Linked DNA regions of Homo sapiens: all the other regions are linked to region 2. Evidence: promoter capture Hi-C in 16 types of primary human blood cells and fetal thymus (Javierre and others, 2016). All regions are on one chromosome and are shown on one strand. Each heading gives the region's core, a stretch centred on a gene start or on the middle of the fragment in contact. The rest is flanking DNA. Distances are from core to core; before and after follow the strand shown.

Region 1 (4,216 bases), core at 827-3,326, 1.4 Mb after region 2:
CAAGGCCTACATCTAGCTCCCCCCACGTCCCTAGAACAGCTAGGAATACCATATCCAAAGGCTTTGAAATCAAGACCCCAAAGGGTAAGATCTCATGCCTTCGTTTTTAAAAATACAAACAGCAGTGGGTTATGTAATTCAGTCCCCTCCAGACCCCACGAAACCAAGTATTCAAATCAACTAAACATAATTTTGTGCTTGAAAACCTCCGAAATAACAACATCTGCCTCCATTCTGTCACTGAACATGCTAATGGCTAAATTTCAACACTGCTGCCAATCAATAACAGAGATAATATGCCAATTATTTATTACCGTTGAATCCTCTGCAAATAAAAATGTTTCTAATTCATTCTATAGTGCTTAAAACAAGATCAGTATTCCCGGAAAGAAATGATATCTAGAAGGTAATCAAGACAGGATAAGCAGGCATTTTTCAAGCTCTAATTAATAAACAGAAATTAAAATTGATTGGAAAGACAATCACCCCACAGTGTTCCTCAAGCGTTTCCACATTGTAAGGAACATTTACTTCAGCACACTAGGTGCACAGGTAAGTTTAGCAAATGGTGACACTAACTCTACCCACTTCTAAAATCTACTCATTGAAGGACTTCCAAGAGGAAGAATGACAAGTCGCCCATGATGCCACTATTGATTGACATCTTTCAGATTATTTAAAACCCCGAGTTTCCAAAATCAAGCCTGGAATCTTTGGAATCTAAAAAGCTTAAATTTTATAAAGGATAGAAATATAAGGAATAATCCATCACTCAAATCAAACCAACGGGGTGGGGAGCTACAAGGAATAGGAAAACAGGAGATGACAAAAATACAGATTATTGAGCCCTCCAGACAAAAGGATGCCAAACAGGGATTAAAAAACTACACTTTGGGTACAACATACACTGCTTGGGTGACAGCAGCACTAACATCTCAGAATTCACTATATAATGCATCTACGTCACCAAAAACCACTTACCCCCCCCCCAAAAGCTATTGAAGTATTTTTAAAAATTAAAGACTTTAAAAATAAAACTTAAAAAAGAATCTCAAACAGGGAAGTTGAGCACAAACCAAACACAGCAGACAGCACACCCCAGAATGGATGGGACCACATGGGGCTGTGCACAACCAGATACGTGCCGTTAAGGAGCGTTCAGCTTCCTATTTTCAGAGGCGCTCAACACTACAGCAAGTAAAGAGACTGTTGAATTTACCAAAAACTGTAATTTAAATCAAATGCTATTATTCTTCCAAGCCATCACTTACTTGAGTGATGGTATCAATGCTCACAGCCATTTCCTAACTTTTCAAAGGTACTCTCATGCACCCTTAGACTGAATTCTCTAGGAATAAACTTAACGGGGTTTAAAAATGAAAGGTGTAAGATTTGACAGCAACAAATAGGCTTTCTATTCTATTAGTAACTTAATAAAATTACACTTCTATCAATGGAAGAACAGAATAAAAGTAATTTTCTCAGCCAGGCGCAGTGGCTCACGCCTGTAATCCCAGCACTTTGGGAGGCCAAGGTGGATGGATCACTTGAAGTCAAGAGTTCCAGACCAGCCCTGACAACATGGTGAAATCCCATCTCTACTAAAAATACAAAAATTAGCTGAGTGTGGTGGTGGGTGCCTGTAATCCCAGCTACTCAGGAGGCTGAGGCAGGAGAACTGCTTGAACCCGGGAGGCAGAGGTTACAATGAGCCAAGATCACACCACTGCACTCCAGCCTGGATGACAGAGCAAGACTCCGTCTCAAAAAAACAAACAAACAAACAAACAAACAAAACAGTAGTTTTCCCAAGTACAAATGAATGCTCCCTCCTCCTCAAAAAAAAATTTTCACAAGAAAGATTCCTTAGGAGTCAAACATATTTTACCTGTAACACCATGTTGAGTAAACTGTTCACAGCTAGAGTTGCATGAAACACTCCACAAAGTCTAGAACAACCAAATGTGTTCTAAAATTGTGTAGTACCAACGCTATAGCAAAATGCTTCCTAGTTTAAGAATTACAGGTAAAGACTTTTCATTTTCCTGGTATTTCTGGACATCCCTGGATGTCTCAAGGCTGCTGCACTGACTCATCCCACCCACTAATGAAAAATATAAAACGCCTTAGTCCAAGTATCTACTTGAATTTATTTAGTAACAAAAAACCACCCGTCCTGATGGCATAAACAAAAGCGCGCTCTATGATCGCACAATGCTAGTTGTGAGTGGGATTTCCAACACTAGAGGGCGCTGTCCCGCTTTCCCGCACGTGCCATGGCTGCATACCTACCTTATCCAGAGACAGGAAGTGCCGCGTGCTGGGTTATTTCCGACACAACAGACAAGCACATCACTCGTTGTTCTTCTTGTACTTCAACTGTCCCCAATTACTTAACTGTTGCTATGCTTTTTTGAGCTCCTATGAAATTCCTTAAAATATTTTTTACTTATTTTCAGTAACAGCACGTGAGGTTGCTTAAGGGCTCTGGCGTATCCCGAGCAATCTCTATGCCCTCCTGCAAAGCCAGCACGGATGGAACACGCTACGCTGTTTGTCAGGGAACCGCCTGTCCTTCTAGCGGTTTTCACGCTGTTTAGTTCCAAAACAGTTTCAAATTCAGTCAAAGTCTAGTTCAATATTCACTACAGCTAGGATTCTAGTTACCAATGGTAATCATGAAAGATATTACAAACTGAGAAACAAAAGACCTTGACTGTCCCAAAGTGATTTTTTTTTTTTTTTGAGATGAAGGCTTGCTCTGTCTCCCAGGCTGGAGTGCAATGGCACGATCTCAGCTCACTGCAACGTCCACCTCCCGGGTTCAAGCAATTCTTCTGCCTCAGCCTCCAGAGTAGCTGGGATTACAGGCGCCTGCCACCACACCCAGCTAATTTTTCTATTTTTAGTAGAGACAGGGGTTTCACCATCTTGGTCAGGCTGGTCTCAAACTCCTGACCTCAGGTGATCCACCCGCCTCAGCCTCCCAAAGTGCTGGGATTACAGGCGTTGAGCTACCGCGCCCGGATCCGTAAGTGATCTTACATCAAACTAGAACATACTTTAAGAGTGAAAAATTATACAATGGTTTCTTCCCTCTCCTGTAGAAATGTTACCATAATTAAATGTTTGATCAATTGCTAAATCACAACTTACAATATGAAAATCTTCATATACTTCAAATATACTGAAGAAAATGTCTACATGTAACTGAGGTGCGGCATCCACCTGAATGAACAGCACGAAACGCTATTAAAGTGACACTAGAAGCCCAGGCACAAATCATACACAGACACAAAAAAGCTCCAGATCCCACTCAGGAAGAATGCACCAACACATTCGCATTTATTTTCTTTTTTTTTTTTTTTAAAGCAAATGACAAAGACCCAGTTTACCAGCTTTACTTTTTTAAACCTAAGCTTAACATTACATATTTAAACAATTGTCAAAACTTACTAAGTTGCCAGCATTCATGCACAACTAGAAAACATCCTTAATTTATATTAAACCAGAAATGTATTACCATTAATGTATTAATATCTTTCACTACTAAATACTGAAAAAAATTGAAATTATTTCTGTAGAAGAATCGTCCTGGCAATGTTAACTTCACAGCAGGCCGACACTACGTGGCTCACATTTCAGACACAATGAAAAGCAGGTCCATGCTGGTGTTAGTGTACAATCTTGTCCTACACTAAAGAGTCAAGACTCACCTTGGAGTACGTTTAATAAAAAAGCAAAGTGCATACAGAGATTTACAACAATTTTAAAGACAAAAAAAAAATGGTCCTATTATGTGGTCCCAACAATCAACTCAAAAGTCTATGACAAATAGAGGCTCCGATGAGCTGTTTATAAATACTTTAGGTACAATTATACTGAAAGTCGAGTTCGTTTGAAATCTTCAAAAAAATGTTCCTGTTAATCCTCAAATGGTGCTTGTTATAGTTTAACATTTCTGTTAAGTGCGTGCGTTGAATTACTTGTTATCCAAGCGCAGCAGCTGCTCCTTACCATTTATTGTTAAGGACTTTAACTGGCCATCTTCTTCAACTTCTACTCTTTCTTGACCGTTCTCGACAATTCTGTAGGAAAAAAATTCATTTAAAAACCTTTCTGGTAAAGAAAATGCATGTGTGAGGGTAACTAAGTTGTTTAAGGACATTACTGAAATACACCATGAATATAAGTAATTTTCAGGCTGTAAAAACAT
Region 2 (3,973 bases), core at 743-3,242:
AATCTAGTTTACATCCTTGGGTCAACCACTGGATGGCACATGGCACAGGATTTTTTTTTTTTTCTTGAGACGTAGTCTTGCTCTGTCGCCCAGGCTGGAGTGCAGTGGTGCGATCTCGACTCACTGCAACCTCCGCCTCCCGGGTTCAAGTAATTCTCCTGCCTCAGCCTCCCGAGTAGCTGGGACTCCAGGTGCGCGCCGCCATGCGCGGCTAATTTTTTGTTATTTTTAGTAGAGACGGGGTTTCACCATGTTGGCCAGGATGGTCTTGATCTCCTGACCTCGTGATCTGCCCTCCTCGGCCTCCCAAAGTGCTGGGATTACAGAATTTTTTACGTGGCTTATGTTTATGCAAGTCTTTGTAGGATGTGATCCTACAATTTTCCAGTAGAGGAAAGCTGCAAAAGAAAGGCTCAGGCTCCTTTCTGTGTCAACAAAGCAATTACTTGCTTTTGTGTTGAGGCTTAGTTTTGAATGAAAGGTGGTGTTAGGAGCATTAACCGGTTGCATATTTACAATCTACATAATATAATTTGTTGCTGCAGCAAACCAGGGACTGTGAAGAGTAAGAAAAGGGAAACCACTTCCATTCCTTGCTTGGGGTTTACTGCCCTTGCCTGGAGTTGAGAGTTTAGACTCTGCAATGTTTTACATATGTGATATAATCTCCACATACATATGCACACAAAATTATGAAGACGCAGGAACGAGGGGAGACAGATTCCTATGTAAAGGTGACCCTGCTTCTTCTGGGCATTTGTTTATTCATTCAGTACCTGCCAGTGCCCTACTCTGTTACAAATTCAGTAAAAATTTCCTTGGAATTCACTGAATATGCTCAAAAACAGTCAAGTAGGATGTTCTTTGCTACTGTTTGGCTTGGAGTTTCCTTGAAAGAAACTACAGAACAAATATAATTAACTCGATTGAATTCACTGGAAAGTAAAGTGATCAATAGTTGTGTTTTTGAGTTAACTGAAAAGTGACCTCAGGAATCACAGGAAAGGCCCAAAATTAGTCGTTTGAAACAGCTATTCATAGTTGGCCACAATATTAACACCTTCGGCGAAGCTGCGTGGTGCCCGGGGTGGAGTTCCCGAGTGTCAACAGCGTCCCTTGGGCGCTTGCGGTGGTCTTTGCCCGGCACTACCAGACCCCTCAGGGAGGACTTTTGGGATTAAAGGCATCTTAAAAGCCAACTGAACTGTGTGAGAGTTGTCAAGGTCACAACGGAGTCGTTTGTGTTTAAAACCCTGACAAGCAGGGTGGGAAGGGCCCCAGAGGCAGCGTTCTCACGCCGGAATGCCCGATAACAAGACCGTCCCGAGAGACTCCGCAAAAGCCACAACCTTGCACACTGGCTAGGCAACCTCACACCGAAAAATACCGGAGGACTCCCGCCAGCGGCGCCCGTCCGACCTCCGGCGGGCGGCGCCCTCTCACCCGTCCTCCTGGCCGCAAAATGACCGCAAACAGGGACGCCGCCCTCTCATCCCACCGCCACCCCGGCTGCGCTCAGCGGCCGCGCACCCCCACGTTTGCCAGCAGCTCCCAGAGGCGGTCAGCCTTTGGGTTTGACGACGGCAACTTCCCGGGCCTCGGCGAGCGCAGCCACGCACCCGGAAGCCGCCTCGGGGCGCGACGCCGAGCCAAAACCGCCCGCGGGCTCCGAGGCCACAGGCAAGTGGGGAGGGTGCCCCGTGGGGCTCGAGGGGACGCAGGCACGCCCAGCCCACGCACCGAGCACTCTCCTTTCCCGTCCCCGGCTCCCGCCAGCCGAGACACAACGCTCGCGTGATGACGTCGTGCGCCTGCCCGGCCCACTCCAGTAGTCTCCGACCCGGCCCACGGCCCGCCCCGCGCGATGACGTCAGTATCCACCCCGCCCGCTCCCGGTGACGTGCCAGCCCCAGGCCCACGCCGCTCCCGCCCCGCGTGATGACGCCACCGTCCCGGGCGGAGGCGGGCGTGCGGCGGAGCCGCGTCCCCTCAGAGGGGCGCTGGCGCGGGGCTGAGCCGCCCGGGATCAGCGCGAGCACCCAGCCCGCCTCGGCCGGGAGGGCAGCGCGGCACTGCGGGGCGATGAGCGGCGCCCGGGGCGAGGGCCCGGAGGCGGGCGCCGGCGGGGCTGGGGGCCGCGCGGCGCCTGAGAACCCCGGGGGCGTGCTGAGCGTGGAGCTGCCCGGGCTGCTGGCGCAGCTGGCGCGGAGCTTCGCGCTGCTGCTGCCCGTGTACGCGCTGGGCTACCTGGGGCTCAGCTTCAGCTGGGTTCTCCTCGCGCTCGCGCTGCTCGCCTGGTGTCGCCGCAGCCGCGGCCTCAAGGCCCTGCGCCTGTGCCGCGCGCTGGCGCTGCTGGAAGACGAGGAGCGCGTCGTGCGCCTGGGGGTGCGCGCCTGCGACCTGCCCGCCTGGGTGAGTGCAGACCCCTGCCCGTCCCGACCCCTGACCACCAGTCCCGATCTCCCCTCGTCCAGGCAGGCACTCCCCTCCCCGCGACCTGCCGCCTGGGTGAGTGCAGACCCCAGCCCTGCCCCGGCTCCCGCCTTCGTAGTCCCCCACCCACCCCGGTCCAGGCAGGCGCTTCCCTTCCGCCTGGGCGAGTGCAGACCCCAGCCCCGGCCCCCGGGCCGGTTCCTGCGACCTGCCAACCTAGGTGAGTGCAGACCCCGCCCCGCCCCCCGGCCCCGACTCCCAGCCTGCTGGCGACCTGCCCGCTAGGGCGAGTGCAGACCCCAGCCCCGCCCCGGCCTCCGGCCCACTCCCTGCGAACCTGTCCGCCTGGGGCCGCCGCCCGCTGCTCGCCGCTCCCGCCCTAGTCCTGAGTGCTCCGTGCCCTCCCTCCGTCCAAGTCGGGCGTCCCCTTCTCCGCTTCCCCGCCCGCCCAGGCTCCGGGTCCGGGGCGCGTCTGCCCTCGTGAAGCCTCCCCTCGCCGTCCCGCGCGGCTTTCTCGGAGACCCCTCTTCACAAAGCCCGCTTCCCTCCCCCGGCCTGCAGACCCCGAGCGCCAGCGGCAGGTACCGGGCTTGGCGCCCCCTCTTCGGCCGCGGCCCTGCCCGGAGCGCGCGCTTCCTCCTGGTGCCGCCCGCGGGGTCTCCTTAGGGGCCTGAGCGGCCGGTTCTGCTCTCAGAGCGCCCAGCGCGATTCTCGTGCGCATTCCCAAAGCCCTGCCGGCCTGGAAATGCTCCGGGTGGCTTCAGCTTTTCCTTCTCTCTGTTTTTTAAAAAACGTAATGACAGCTGGTGGGGGAGAAGTTAACTTTTTCTTCTACCGGGAGAAGACGCACTCGTGTCTTGGTTGTTTCTGACGCATTTCAAGGGCAGTAAGTGTCTCTCGAAAGATGTGGAGATATTAGATAATTGAAAGATTGTTTCAGTTTTTTTGCAAGTATAATTGTGAGACTGAGCATTTTTATATGGGATCGACCTGAATCCAGTGTGAATGTGTGTGTGTGTGGCAGGAAGTTTTGGAAGAGTTGCAGCAATAACAAGAGTCATGGTATTATTTTATTTTTAACCCGGCAGTTCTCTACCTCGTATATTTATGGACTATAGACACGAAGAGTTGGCTTCAAATCTTTTTCTTGTCATTCCCTAATTCTTTCTTAGCCATGACTTGGCTTCACAGTTTCACACTGCAAGAAAGGATTTTAATGATTCTTCCATTAGGCTTAATATAAACTTTGGGGTGAAGGTGACCAGCAGTGGGTTTCGGAAGGGTCATTTTCTCTTAGAGGAGAAAAGTCCCTGTTTCCAGTCATGAGACACCTGAGAAGTAAGGCATGACACAGATGGCAAACAAGAATTAGAAAGGAGGCGTGCCCAAGACAAGAAGAAGGTAGTAGATGCTACTTTGTGACGTCATATTGCAACTGGAGTAAGAATATAATGTAAGGAGCTTGGGAATGTACAGTTCTGCCGATGCGTGGTGAGCATGAGGGAGTCATATTTGGAGAACCAAGGTAACTGGCATGGTG
Region 3 (4,410 bases), core at 1,604-4,103, 1.5 Mb after region 2:
CCGTCTCTACTAAAAATAGAAAAAATTAGCCGGGCGTGGTGGCGGGCGCCTGTAGTCTCAGCTACTTGGCAGGCTGAGGCAGGAGAACGGTGTGAACCCGAGAGGTGGAGCTTGCAGTGCGCCGAGATCGCACCACTGCACTGCAGCCTGGGCGACAGAGCAAGACTCCATCTCAAGAAAACAAGAAAAAAAAGAAAATAGCTGAAGGTCTAGAAAGAGAAATCCACGTGTCTCCAAGGAAACCTGCAGAGCTGGCTGAAGTGCTGATGCTGCAACAATCCCCACTGTTTGCTGCAAGCTCACTCCTTACTGCTTCAGTCATCACTGATGTAAGACACAATTTAAAATTTGACAAACTCCATGAAAGGTTACCTGCATTCAAATTTTTTTATTAACCTCAGAATTTCAAGGCTACCTATACATTTCTATCAGTATTTCCCTATAGAAGTATTTTTGGTAACACTATCTTTTTTTTCCTCAGACCTCTCAAAAACAGTGTTTAAAAAAAACTGATAAAACTATATATTAAATATCCAACTGTGTATTAGATGATAAAGCAGCCTGAAGCTGTAGAAATACTAATGCATTCCAAAACAATTTTAAGCAAAAAGTTGCCTAATCAAGATATAAAACTAGGTACCAATTAGCATTATTTGATACATACTTGGACGATTTCCCTAGTCACAGAGAAACTAAGTTGTATCTTTAACTTTTTTTTTTTTTTTTTTTTTACTACTCCTTGCAGAGCAGGGCTACCCCATAGGCAGTGTGCCCGGAGTAGCCTAATATCATTTAAGTGTAAAATACATGGATTCATTTCTTAAAAGACACCATTTGTGGCAATAAAACATTTTAACTGGCCTTCATCTCCCTAAGGTTGGCCCTGAATCCTTCTGGCCCGCCCAGCACTGTGAGGATGAGCACAGAGGACAAAGCTCCTCTACTTCCCTCTTCTCCTGGCCCGTGTGTTCAATGCACATTACAGAAAACAGGTGATCCCAGAAAAATGTGGGCCCTCAGGAGGACTGGAAGGCACACTCAAGCTGCCTTCCCTGCCCAGCGAGAGCCTGGACTCCAGCCCTCCACCCTACAGAAGCTCAGCCAGGAAAAACCAGCTTCCCTCACCAAGAAACCAGTGCATCACCTGCATTTTAAAATAATATACTAAATCAAAAGAAGTAATTTCTACAGCAGATCACTCACATCAGAGCTCTACAAGCATAGGTGTCCATTAGAACCCCACTTGGCAAAAACCTTTTTAAAACCATGCTGCTCAAAAGACTCCATAAGCCAAATGCAGCTATTTAAATCTGAAGTCATTAAAATTATACACAATTTAAAATTTGGCCCCTCAGCAATCTTTGTTTGGATATGACCCCCAAAAGCACAAGGAACAAAAGCCGAAACAGACAAGTGGGATTACATCACACTGAAAAGCTTCTAGACAGCAAAGACACAGGAGTGAAACAACCTTGGAAATGTGCAGAAGGATCACTTGAGCCCAAGAGCTTGAGACCAGCCTGGGCAACACAGTAAGACACCATCTCTACAAAAAGATAAAAAAAATTAGCTGAGTGGGGTGGCACATGCCTGTACTCCCAGCTATGCAGGAGGCTGAAATGGCAGGATCACTTGAGCGCAAGAGATCAAGGATGCTGTGAGCCATGTCATGTCACTGCACTCCAACTTGGACAAGAGACAGGGCAAGGCCCTGTCTCAGAAAAAAACAAAATATATAAAAAATAAAAATTTTAAGCCAGGCGCAGTGGCTCACGCCTGTAATCCCAGCACTTTGGGAGGCTGAGGCGGGTGGATCACCTGAGGTCAGGAATTCAAGACCAGTCTGGACAACATGGTGAAATCCTGTCTCTACAAAAAATACAAAAACTAGCCAGGTGTGGTGGCGGGCGCCTGTAATCCCAGTTACTTGGGAGGCTGAGGCAGGAGAATCACTTGAACCTGGAAGGCAGAGGTTGCAGTGAGCCGAGACCACTCCATTGCACTCTAGCCTGGGCAACAAGGGCGAAACTTCATCTCAAAAAATAAAATAAATAAAAATAAACAAAAAACTTTAAAGTTAAAAATGATAAAATAAAAGTGACAGTGCTGTAAAGTAGCACTTTAAAAGAAATCACAGCTGGGTACAGTAGCTCATGCCTGTAATCCTAACACTTTGGCAGGCTGAGGCAGGGGGATCACTTCAGCTCAGGAGTTCAAGACCACGCTGAGTAACACAGCAAAATCTTGTCTCTACGAAATATAAAAACTCAGTAGGGTGTGGCAGTGTGCACCTGTAGTCCCAGCTACTGGAAGTGGCTGAGGCAGGAAAATCACTTGAGCCCAGGCAGTCGATGCTAGTGAGACGTGAACGCACCAATGCCCTCCAGCCTACGTAACGGAGCAAGACCCTGTCACAAAAATAATAAATTTTTTTTTAAATAAAAAATAAAAAAACAAATAATTTCAGGCTGGAAGGGAATTTGCGTAGAGCAGGAAGATATTCTCTAACTACAAAATTAACTTTTTTTTTTTTTTGAGTTTGAGTCTCACTCTGTTGCCCAGGCTGGAGTGCAGCAGCACAATCTCAGCTCACTGCAACCTCCACCTCCCTGGTTCCAGCGATTCTCCTGCATCAGCCTCCCGAGTACCTGGGACTACAGGTGTGTCCCACAATGCCTGGCTATTTTTTTTTTTTTTTGAGACGGAGTCTCACTCTGTCACCCAGGCAGAGTGCAGTAGAGTGCAGTAGAGGGATCTCGGCTCACTGCAAGCTCCGCCTCCCGCGTTCACGCCATTCTCCTGCCTCAGCCTGCTAAGTAGCTGAGACTACAGGCACCTGTCACCACGCCCAGCTGATTTTTGTATTGTTTTAGTAGAGATGGGGTTTCACCATGCTAGCCAGGATGGTCTCAAACTCCTGACCTTGTGATCTGACCACCTTGGCCTCCCAAAGTACTGGGATTACAGGTGTGAGCCACCACACCCGGCCCATAATTAACATTTCTAATAACAATTATGAAACTTCTTTAAACTATTAACTAGGTCCTACTGTCTATTAAGGAAGCCATAGAAAACTTTTCAATTAAGAAATTAAGAAAAAATATTTCTTAGGAAAACTCGGTTTGTTAATTTCTGCAATTTCCAAAAGCAATACATCTAAATCAAGTTTAAAAAAACGAAAAATCTCTATTAAAACCATGAAAAAAATTAGCCTAATCGCCATTAATCAAAAATAACCTTCTCCAATAAATTCAATGACCTCTAAGTTTAGGACTTTTAAAAAAACACGTCACATAAAGATTAGGCGTGGGTAGCTCATGCGTATAATCCCAGCACTTTGGGAGGCCATGGCAGGTGGATCACCTGGGGTCAGGAGTTTGAGAACAGCATGGCCAACGTGGTGAAACCCCGTCTCTACTAAAAATACAAAACCCAGTCAGACGTGGTGGCGCCTGTAGTTCCAGGTGAGGCAGGAGAACTGCTTGAACCCGGGAGAGTTTGCAGTGAGCTGAGATCACACCACAGCACTCCAGCCGGGGCAACAGAGCAAGACTCCATCTCAAAAAAAAATAGTGGTTTCTAAATTCATCTGAGGCCAGGTGAGGTGGCTCACGCCTGTAATCCCAGCACTTTGGAGGGCCGAGGCACGCAGATCACCTGAGGTGTTCAAGACCAGCCCGGCCAACATGGCAAACCCCTTTCTCTACTAAAAATACAAAAATTAGCCAGGCATGGTGGTGAGCGCCTGTAGTCCCAGCTACTCGGCAGCCTGAGGCAGGAGAATTGCTTGAACCTGGGAGGTGCAGGCGCAGTGAGCCAAGATAGTGCCACTGCACTCCTGCCTGAGCAACAGAGCAAGACTCTGTCTTAAAAAAAAAAAAAAAATTACCTGGGTGTGGTGGTGCACATCTGTAATCCCAGCTACTCAGAAAGAAGGCTGAAGCACAAGAATTGCTTGAGCCTGGGAGGCAAAGGTTGCAGTGAGCCAAGATCACGCCGCTGCACTCCAGCCTAAGTGACAGAGTGAGACTTGGTCTCAAACAACAAAAAAAAAAAGCAAAAACAAAAAAAGTACAGACAGGTAGGAAAAAAAAAAACCCACAGCAGTGAATTTTCATTCCTTATCACACACATCACCTACTTATTTCATTATCCAGTATGTCCTAAAATATTTCTGAAACAAACACAGAAGTTATTTCCCCATTACTCAAGATCAGAGACCATTTCTTCAACTAGCACTCATCACCTATTAGATACTTCCAAGCTTAACTCCCTTTCATTAAAAAATCATAATAGGCCAGGCTTGGTGGCTCACACCTGTAATCCCAGCACTTTGGAAGGTCGAGGAAGGTGGATTGAGGTCACAAGTTCAAGACCAGCCTGGCCAACATGGTGAAACCCTATCTCTAC
Region 4 (3,975 bases), core at 1,377-3,876, 1.5 Mb after region 2:
CCGTATCTCAGCTACTTGGGAGGCTGAGGCAGGAAAATCGCTTGAACCCAGGAGGCAGAGGTTGAAGTAAGCCAAGATTGCACTACTGTACTCCAGCTTGGGCAACAGAGGGAGACTGTGTCTCAGAACAAAAATTTAAAAAAAGAAAAATTGGTTGGGCATGGTGGCACGTGACTGTAGTCTCAGTAACTAGAGAGGCTAAAGTGGGAGGATAGGTTGAGTCTGGAAGGTCAAGCCTGCAGCGAGCTGAGATCACACCACTGTACTCCATCCTGAGTGACAGAGTGAGACCCTGTCTCAAAAACAAAACAAAACAAACAAAAAAGTTCAGCTGGGACCAACACTGAAGCCCCAGGAGGCTCCAGTTAGTTTCACAGACACCGTCCCTTTCAACAGAGCTGAGCCTTAAGACCTGCCATCTGCCCTAGAAATATGTTGAATCTGTGTTAGCACTTCAAATTCCGATTCGATAAAATATTTACTGCTTTCAAATTATTATAATTTTCAATTATAATCAATTTAATTGAAATAATTTTTTATTTGTATTTATTTTTTTTAAATATATTTTTTACACAGTCTCACCACGTTGCCCAAGCTAGAATGAAGTGCGTGCTCACGGCTCTCTGCAGCCTCCATCTCCCCAGCTCAAGTGATCCTCCCACCTCGGCTTCCTGAGTAGCTACGACAACAGGCATGTGCCTGTTTTTGATTTGTTCATTTATTTATTATTTATTTATTGAGACAGAATCTCGCTCTGTCGCCCAGGCTGGTGTACAGTGGCATGATCTCAGCCCCCAGTAACCTGCACCTCCTGGGTTCAAGTGATTCTCATGCCTCAGCCTCCTGAGTAGCTGGGATTACAGGCACATGCCACCATGCCCAGCTAATTTTTGTATTTTTAGTAGAGACGGGGTTTCTCCATGTTGGCCAGGGTGGTCTCGAACTCCCGACTTCAGGTGATCCACAAGCCTCGGCCTCCCAAAGTGCTGAGATTACAGACATGAGCCATCGCACCCGGCCAAATTTCTATTGAAGAGATATTCCCTACCCTTCCCAGAACAAAGTATGGGACCAAATCATTATTTTGATATAAAGTAATACATGTTTGAGCTCCTTTTTTTTTTTTTTTTGAGATGGAGTCTCTCTCTGATGCCCAGGCTAGAGTGCGGTGGTGCAATCTCAGCTCACTGCAAGCTCCGCCTCCTGGGTTCACGCCATTCTCCTGCCTCAGCCTCCCAAGTAGCTGGGACTACAGGCGCCAGCCACCACGCCCGGCTAATTTTTTTTGTATTTTTAGTAGAGACTGGGTTTCACCGTAGCCAGGATGGTCTCGATCTCCTGACCTCGTGATCTGCCCACCTTGGCCTACCAAAGTGCTGGTATTACAGGGGTGAGCCACCGCACTTGGCCATGTTTGAGCTCCTGACCTTGCTGAGGGCTTTCTATTTTATCAGTTAAAATTTAGTTGCTCATAACTGAAATTAATTCTGTATTTATTTGTTTTATTTATTTTTTTGAGACGGAGTCTCACTCTGTCACCAGGCTAGAGTGCAGTGGCTCCATCTCAGCTTACTGCAACCTCTGCCTCCCGAATTCAAGCAATTCTCCTGCCTCAGCCTCCCGAGTAGCTGGGACTACAGGCATGCATCACCACGCCCAGCTAAGTTTTGTGTGTTTAGTAGAGACAGGGTTTCACCATGTTGGCCAGGATGGTCTCAATCTCTTGACCTCATGATATGCCCACCTCGGCCTCCCAAAGTGCTGGGATTACAGGCATGAGTCACCACGCCCGGCCTAATTCTGTATTTCATATGTTTTGCAAATTGGCATTCACTGTGATTTCAATATCATTCATAGTAGTAATAATAATACCAAGTATATAAGGGCTGCCATCAAAAAATGCAAGAGTTTTATTCTAAAAATTTTATTTCCGCTGGATGCAGGGGCTCATCCCTATAATCCCAGCACTTTGGGAAACCGAGACGGGAGGATAGCTTGAGCTCAGGAGTTCAAGACCAGGCTGAGTAACATAGTGAGACCCCATTTCTACCAAACTTTTGAAAATTAGGTGGCCCAGCACAGTGGCTTATGCCTGTAATCCCAGCATTTTGGGAGGCCGAGGCAGACAGATCACTTGAGGTCAGGAGTTTGAGACCAGCCTGGCCAACATGGTGAAACCCCATTTCTACTAAAAATGCAAAAATTAGCCAGGCATGGTGGTGCATGCCTGTAATCCCAGCTACTCGGGAGGCTGAGGCATAAGAATCACTTGAACCCAGGAGGTGGAGGTTGCAGTGACCTGAGATCACACCACTCCACTCCAGCCTGGGCGAGAGTGAGACTCTATCTCCAAAAATAAACATAAAAATAAATATCCCTACCTTGCACTGTATACAAACATTAACTCAAGAGAGATCACAAACTCAAATGAAAATCTGAAACAATAACACTTCTAGAAGAAAACAGGTGAAAATAATTGAGACTTTCTGGGAGGCAGAGTTTTTTTGCTCAGGATACCAAAAGCATTTGCCATAAAAGAAAAAAATTCATGGCTGGGCGCAGAGGCTTATGCCTGTAATCCCAGCACTTTGGGAGGCCGAGGCGGGAGGATCGCAAGGTCAAAAGTTCAAGACCAGCCTGGCCAAGCTGGTGAAACACCGCCTACACTAAAAATACAAAAATTAGCCGGGCACGGTGGCAGGTACCTGTAATCCCAGCTATTAGGGAGGCTGAGGCAGGAGAATCGCTTGAACCCGGGGGTCAAAGGTTGCAGTGAGCCAAGACTGTGCCACTGCTCTCCAGCCTGGGCAACAGAATGAGACTCTGTCTCAAAAAAAAAAAAAAAAAAGAAAATTCATAAATTAGATCTCTTCAAAATTAAACACTTTCACTTTCCAAAAACCACAGTATAAAAATGAAAAAGCCAGGCTCTGAGCCCAGAGTTCTGGGCTCAGAATGCTGTGGTGGCTTCCACCTGCAGTTCCAGCTGCTTGAAGGTCTGAGGCAATAGGATCACTGAGCACAGGAGTCTGAGACCAGCCTCAGCAACAACAACAACAACAAAAGACAAGCCCAGGCCGGGGGCGGTAGCTCAAGCCTGTAATCCCAACACTTTGGGAGGCCAAGGCGGGCAGCTGATGAGGTCAGGAGTTCCAGACCAGCCTGATCAACATGTTGAAACCCCGTCTCTACTAAAAATACAAAAAAAAAATTAGCCAGGCTTGGTGGCGTGCGCCTGTAATCCCAGCTACTCAGGAGGCTGAGGCAGGAGAATCACTTGAACCCAGGAAACGGAGGTTGCAGTGAGCTGAAATGGCACGACTGCACTGCAGCCTGGGCAACAGAGCGAGACTCCATCTCAAAGACAAGCCCAAGGCCAAGCAGGGTGGCTCAAGCCTGTAACGCCAGCACTTTGGGAGGCCGAGGCAGGTGGATCAGGACTTGAGGTCAGGAGTTCAAGACCAGCCTGGCCAACATGGCAAAACCCTGTCTCTACTGAAAATACAAACATTAACCAGGTGTCGTGGTGCTTGCCTTTAATCCCAGCTACTCAGGAGGCTGAGGTATGAGAATCACTTGAACCCATAAGGTGGAGGTTGCAGTGAGCTGGGATGGAGCCACTGCACTCCAGCCTCGGCTACAGAGGAAGTCTCTGTCTCAACAAAATAAAACAAAGACAGCCCTAGACTGAGCTGGACCCAGGACGAGATGCAGGGGTGACCTTCCAGGCCCAATCATAGCTCAGGATGAGATCCTGGGGTGACCTTCCAGGCCCAATCATAGCTCAGGATGAGATCCTCGGGGTGACCTTCCAGGCTAACCATAGCTCAGGATGAGATCCTCGGGGTGACCTTCCAGGCCAACCATAGCTCCATGCATAACCTATGCCACTTGTGGCCTCTCTCGCGGGACATGTAGTCCCCTGTTATAAACTGTCCCTACCAGTAGCCTTCAGGTCCCTGCCCGGGCTCTAAA

The links. Contacts are between HindIII fragments. The CHiCAGO score rates a contact against its expected background, and 5 or more counts as called.
Region 1: a contact is called between a fragment that was not itself captured here and the fragment with the promoter of ESYT2 in region 2, in 2 of 17 cell types (monocytes and erythroblasts). The highest score is 7.4, in monocytes.
Region 3: a fragment that was not itself captured here is called in contact with the fragment with the promoter of ESYT2 in region 2 in 1 of 17 cell types (monocytes); the score reaches 6.2 in monocytes.
Region 4: a fragment that was not itself captured here is called in contact with the fragment with the promoter of ESYT2 in region 2 in 1 of 17 cell types (M0 macrophages); the score reaches 5.9 in M0 macrophages.

The regions. Positions count from the first base shown.
Region 1 is chr7:157,385,413-157,389,628 of GRCh38, reverse strand. It overlaps DNAJB6 (DnaJ heat shock protein family (Hsp40) member B6), which reads right to left. Exons shown (of 10, transcript NM_058246.4): 8 at 4,018-4,088. Among named protein-coding and RNA genes, the nearest start is that of DNAJB6, 51 kb to the right of the region's middle. The HindIII fragment of the contact is 2,691 bases long and covers 731-3,421 here.
Region 2 is chr7:158,827,528-158,831,500 of GRCh38, reverse strand. ESYT2 (extended synaptotagmin 2) reads left to right here and starts at 1,992. Exons shown (of 23, transcript NM_001367773.1): 1 at 1,992-2,412. The coding sequence starts at 2,083. RefSeq lists enhancers at 1,029-1,138, 3,149-3,218 and silencers at 1,449-2,178, 2,269-2,368, 2,419-2,608, 2,699-2,748, 2,829-3,028. The HindIII fragment of the contact is 12,010 bases long and covers 1-3,973 here.
Region 3 is chr7:157,342,638-157,347,047 of GRCh38, reverse strand. The region is part of intron 1 of DNAJB6 (DnaJ heat shock protein family (Hsp40) member B6); the gene reads right to left. Among named protein-coding and RNA genes, the nearest start is that of DNAJB6, 7.8 kb to the right of the region's middle. The HindIII fragment of the contact is 2,827 bases long and covers 1,440-4,266 here.
Region 4 is chr7:157,319,828-157,323,802 of GRCh38, reverse strand. No RefSeq gene overlaps it. Among named protein-coding and RNA genes, the nearest start is that of DNAJB6, 15 kb to the left of the region's middle. The HindIII fragment of the contact is 5,596 bases long and covers 1-3,975 here.